2 separate regions of the Homo sapiens genome follow, and region 2 is linked to region 1. The links are contacts of gene promoters, found by promoter capture Hi-C in blood cells and fetal thymus (Javierre and others, 2016). All regions are on one chromosome and are shown on one strand. The core of a region is centred on a gene start or on the middle of the fragment in contact, and the rest is flanking DNA. Distances in the headings are between cores, read along the strand shown. Region 1 holds the start of EEA1 (early endosome antigen 1). Region 2 overlaps LOC105369896 (a long non-coding RNA gene).

Region 1 (2,930 bases), core at 290-2,789:
GTGATGGGGAAAGTAAAGGACATGCCCTTGTTACTGCCAAAATCATCGCTTACCGGGATTTCAAAATTCACAAAACACTGCAAAATACAATTAAATGTCAACACAGGTTGTCAGATAAAGAAGTTAACTATTTCTCCCTCTAATAACTGACCAAGTTTCACATGACTTCATTCTTTCAGGAGAAAGCTAGGCAGAAGCAAGAGCACTCCCTTCCTATCTACTGGATGACTCAACTCTCTTCCGCACATTCCTCGGCTGAATCCTACAAATTCACTAATTTCTTTTGTCCTTTGAACTAGTTATCCTACTCCCTCGGTAAAGAACTAATAGGCTCGGCACCTACTTTTCAATCATTTACATTTTGTTACACCCTATCAGCCTCAAAAAGAAAAGAAAAAAGCTATACCAAAAAAAAAAAACAAATTTAAGTTGACAGGTACAATAACTCTTACAGGAAAAGAGATGTGAATTATGTTATTCTAGTAACTGATTCTTAAATGATACACCTACAGTTTTCTAATGCTCTAATCTTTCTATCCTCAAGGTTTTCCAGATTTCAGAGACAGCACAGGCAGAAACTAAGTGTATATACCACTTGATCAAGCTTACTGCGGATTTATTCTTGGATAGCTAAAATAAGGTAGTGGGGCTTGCACAGAAAACATATTTTTAATTAAAAAAAAAGTTTCCAACAGTGAGTAACATCTTCCTTCTCGGCTGACTGTGCCAGTGTCAGTCCCACGCCTGGGCCCAGGCTAGGCCGGGGCTCACCACACCACCCTCCACTGTGGTCCAAAGGAGAAAGCAGGGCCGTGTGTGGCAGGTGCGCATCGTGTCAAATTGGGGGGCACGGGGAGTGCGGCGGGTGGGGAAAGGCGAAGCAAGCCGCCCGAATCTCCCATGGGGCGTTCTCCAGCCCGGCAGGCGGCGGCTGGCCCGTCCCACGGGCACCAACTCTCCATTTTCACTCCCACTCAGGGTTCCCGGGAGGAACGCGCCGGCACCACACCCTCCAGCTCGCAGCCCGCTCGCACACACGGAGCCCCGCGCCGGAGCGGGCGCCAGGCCTGGACGCGCGGGGCCACCAGGGCTCTGCCTGCCGCCCCGCCGCGCCGGCCCCACCCGCCCTCCCCGCCCCCGGGCCGGGCGACCGAGGCCTAAGCGCCTGCCGGGCTGTGGGGCCTAGGGAAGGAAGGAGCCCGCGCTGAGGAGGGGCGCCCGCGCCGCGGCCCCGAGCTCCGGCTGTCCCGCTCACGTGCTGCCAGAAAGACGGTTTCACTCTCTTACCCTCTGTAAAATCCTCCTTAACATGGTTTAACCACCACCCGGCGCCGCCGCGGTGACTCTCCAGACCCTGCGCGGGGCCACTCACTACTCGGGGTGCGCGGGCGGGAGGGACTGGGCCGGGAGGGGACCGGGAAGGAGGTCGGGGCGAGGCGGTGGCGACGGCCGCTCGGGCGGCCCCGACTTCCCCACAGGCGGCGAGAGGGAGCACGCGAGAGAGAGCGAGCGAACGACTAGGCAGCCTGCGAGCGCCTCCAGCCCGCCCGCCGGGCAGCCCCCGTAACTGACAGATGGGCGGGCCCGCCCGCGGCCGCCGGGGGGCGGGGCGGTGGCGGGCCCGCCCCTCGCCTGTCCATTCGCGGGAGGCGGGGCTGAAGGGGGCCGGTCCAGGCCAGCGACCAATCGGAAGCGGTGGCAACGTGGGCGGCTGCGTGACAGACAGGCGGCAGGACGCTGTCGCCGCAGCTTCTTCCGGCTAGCTGGGGGACGCCGAGGCTGCGGAGTGCACGCCTGGGCTCCGTCAGAGGGCCGCGCCCGCGCGACGACCGCGTGCCCGCTAGTGGGAGGCGGGCGAGGACCCCTGGGGGTGTCCCTCCCTGACCCAGGCGGGAGGAGGGGACGCCTTAGGCTGTTTTGTAAAATGTGTCGGTGTGACCCTTCCGGCGATGGCTCCTGACTCGACGTGGTATTGAGCCTGAGCTATATGCTAGTTTCTGCTGGAAACGCTGACTCTGCCTCTTAGCCCCTGGGTTGAAGCCGACTAGAGAATCTCAGACGTGCTTAACCGGTCTGTTGGGCTTCCCTGCCCTTTTCCAGTCCCAGGTTTCCTTTCCCTGCTCCCTTCCTGCTTCTAATTTCAGCCAAAGAGAAAGCAAAGATTTAGAAAAGAAGGGTAGGAAGAAGCTGGAATTTGAATTGGCAAGAGAAGTTTGAGGTTGTCTTTTCTAGATCAAAACAATTTTTAATAGGCTGATGTTCACATGTTGCACTTTCTAAAGCCCGTGCTTGACCTCCTAAGGAATTTTAAGTCCTATTCTGATAATCGATTTATGAAGTAAATTGTCATTAACGCCTCTGTTTTATAGATTAAGAAGAAAATGAGGTCACAGATAAATATCGTGCCAAAACGACGTGGTCTTTGAACTGACCTCCAGGCACGATGTCATTATTTAACTCGAGAAATCACAGCTTCTGCGTCCTACCATTCTGCCAATATTCACAGCCAAGAGGCTCAACTTAACACCCTGGTAGAAAAAGAGAAGCCTTTAATATTGCTTGAATAGGGAAGGAGAGGGAATAATGGAACTAACCTTGCTGGGAGGGAAAAAAAAAAAAAAAGAAAAAACCAACAGACCACTGAATGAAGCCTATGAAGCAATGAATGGAGTGCTTTTTGGAAAGCACTTCCAGATCTTTTGAAAAGCAGCACAAAATTAAATATTATTTGCAAATCAGTTAATGAATAGGAAAATGTTTTGTAAAGTATAATGCATTATATAATGTAATATGATATTTCTATCCCAAATATATTTGGTTTTTTATTATGTGTGTGTGTGTCTCTCGATGGTGCAGCAGCACGGTCATGCCTACAGCTAATATATGAGTAATCACTAGTGATAATGCACTTACAAAGAACATACTTTTCC
Region 2 (2,930 bases), core at 273-2,772, 1.5 Mb before region 1:
TTAAAAATATAAGGGATATTTGGATTGTGTTATTTTATTCTGAGGTCTATTATTACACTTTCCAGTATTTCCTTTTGAAAACATAATTAAGTTTATTCTTATAATATAATGTAAATACAATTATTTTCTCATTTGGGGAATATATTTTAGAGTGGCTATTAGCAGTATACAATATTACTTTTATTTGTTTATAAAAGCCAGAGGAATTAAGACAGTACAAATTCCACGTTCCATTTTTAATCTTCATAGTTCTTTGTAGGTTTAGCCACATTTTCCTTCCTTATTTATTTCATAATTTGAAAAACCATAATGACATCTACTTGATCTTGAATTGCAATAAAATTTTCATTTTTGTCATAGCATTTACCTCATTTTAGATAAAATTTGACTTAGATGGTTTGGTTTTAAATTGTTGCTGTTGTTTTCATTTGTAAGCTTCATGGTAGCCTGTACACTAAAAATTACAAATATCACTTGTCCTTGCACAAAGTTACCCTCTAATTTAAATATTTTCCCTCAAACTTCCCCTTATTCTGACTTGGGATATCCTCATGTCATTAAAGATTTTGATTTCCTAAAAGGTCCTCAAAATTTTGTAGAAAAGCACTTTATTCATTACTAACCTAGTATATACACATATGATTCTAATTTTCTTCCCATGTTTTAAGGCTTTTATAGTAATATTACACAAATGGTCTGCCTAACAGCCAATCATTTCCAAGATAAAAATGGGCCAAGAGACAAATGACAGGCAATTATTAAGCCTTTTAAGGAGAAACTGTTAAGCCTAGAAGAATATTGATACAAACTGACTTTCTGCACAGTGGACTCAACAAAGCTAACATAATTCACACCAGAGATTCTCTATGGGACCATAAATTAATCAGATTGAAAAGATGGCAACCCAGAAACACAATAAATTGTTCTATGGCATAGTAAGGCACCCTCCACATTCTTATTTTCAATGGCACAATAAGACACATACACACACACCTGACAAAGAATGAATAATTTTGGAAAAAGCTGCCATGTTTTCAGTTTAATCTAAAGACAGAGAGAGAAAGAGGAGGAGGAGGAGGATCCTATATTCACTCCTAACTGCAAGTTTGGAAGAGGTATGAGGAATTTGGGAGTGAGGCAAAGAGGCCACAATGTAAGGGAGAATTGAAATACAACTCGAAAGCCTGGCATCCATGAGGTGAGAGGAGAGCAGGAGATGCCAGAGTTACCCATTACTGACTTGGCTTACTTTACAGAACACAGGAAACTGTTGCTTCTAAGAAAATATCTATTTCATCATAAAAGAATTACAGCTCTTTTGTACATATGAATTTAGCCTGTTTTAATTTTGCCTGGCATTTTGGCTTTGCAAATCTTTAGGTATGAGTGCTAAAGTGTTATTCCAACCATTTCACTCTTTCCCAGTGAATGTTAGAACAATCACCTTTCGGTTAATAAACATGCAGTTTTTTACAACTACTATCACAAGTAACAGTTTAGTGTGTAGAAAGAATCAATGGTAAATTTTGGTGTTTCCAGTAGCTCAATATCTCATTTATCCTTTAGGTATCTGGCAAGCTGTCTTTCCCTTTTCTGGTCACCACTCCTCTGGGGATGTAGCCAAGTACAAAATTGCACATTTCTCCTCCCACAAGTGTCTCAGCTCCCACAGAAAACAAAATCTACATCAAGCATGTTTAAGATGATCTACATGTGAAGTAGAAAGGTTAACACACAAGAGGAGTAACAGACTCATTTATTTATTTATTTTTACCTTCAAGGAGTTTAAATACAAACACAGAGAGAAAACTGAAAATAAGCATGATTCTAGAATTTGTATTATTGTTATATATATATTTTTTAAGTAGATAAGCATAAAACTAAGGAATTGCTCAGATGACCAAGTCTGGAGCAAAAACATCTGACACAGGAAAGTGAGAAAATAAAATGGGGGCCTTGAGTAGAAAAATTTCAATGGGTTAATTTCTGCTGGCGTTCAACATGTTATGCCATAGCAAACAAATAAGAATCATGCTGGGTCTCAATTTATCAGATTCCTTTAATTTACTAAGACTGCATATTAAACTAAATTGTTAGCAGCTGGTTGACTACCTCAACCTAACTCAACTCCTGGGAGCAATTACAGAGCTTCTCAAAATCTGTCCCTGTGTGCATCAAATTGATGTTGGAAAGAAAAAGATACCTCTTTCTAAAGTACTTTATTTCAGCCTTTCAAATTCACCTTCTGAAACCTAGGTGACATTCCTTCTAAACACTGTATACGGTATTGCTTAAGACAAGGAAAGTTTTCCCCCAAAACTATTTGTGCTCCCTTCACTCTGGTAGAATTTTTGGTAAGTTCTTTGGCCTATGCCCACCATATACTAGGCCGCCCTTGCTCACAGAAGGCCACAGCAAACCCCTTCTGCAAGCCCACGATGGAATCGTAAATCTTTACAACTTATTGAAGTCTTCCAGATTTTTAAATATGCCCATGATCCAGACTTTTTGCTTGCATGTTTAAATGGTTGCCTGATGGCTTGCAACAAGAAGTAGAAAGGCATTTTTCTTAAAATAAGCAAACAACCATGGCAAATGAGGTCATATTCCCAAGCTTGAATAATAAATATTGCTAAAATCTACAACCTGAAACATATTTTAAGAATTAGACATAGATTTGGGTTTTTTCTTTCTTTTTCAGGAAGGGGTCTCCCTTGCTGCCAATAAAAATTGCTTTGTGTTGTAAAATTTGGGTTCAGCTTGTCTCCTCCTTATATAAGCCCAGTTGAATAGACTGCTGAGGGAAAATCAAAGTTTAAGAGCCTGGCTTTTCCCGTTTGGCAACTTTCATTTCCTGATAATATCGGATAATTAACAAATTGTGTGTTTTAATGCCCTGTCTCTTGAAGCGCATTTGGGAAAAATACTTC

Evidence for each region. The method cuts DNA at HindIII sites, captures the fragments that hold promoters and counts their contacts. A CHiCAGO score of 5 or more calls a contact.
Region 2: a contact is called between a fragment that was not itself captured here and the fragment with the promoter of EEA1 in region 1, in 1 of 17 cell types (fetal thymus). The highest score is 7.0, in fetal thymus.

Annotation. Positions count from the first base shown.
Region 1 is chr12:92,927,756-92,930,685 of GRCh38, forward strand. It overlaps EEA1 (early endosome antigen 1), which reads right to left and starts at 1,540. Exons shown (of 29, transcript NM_003566.4): 1 at 1,288-1,540. The coding sequence starts at 1,311. RefSeq lists a silencer at 930-2,009. The HindIII fragment of the contact is 15,624 bases long and covers 603-2,930 here.
Region 2 is chr12:91,377,969-91,380,898 of GRCh38, forward strand. The region is part of intron 4 of LOC105369896 (a long non-coding RNA gene); the gene reads right to left. Among named protein-coding and RNA genes, the nearest start is that of LINC02823, 53 kb to the left of the region's middle. RefSeq lists an enhancer at 2,924-2,930. The HindIII fragment of the contact is 2,179 bases long and covers 434-2,612 here.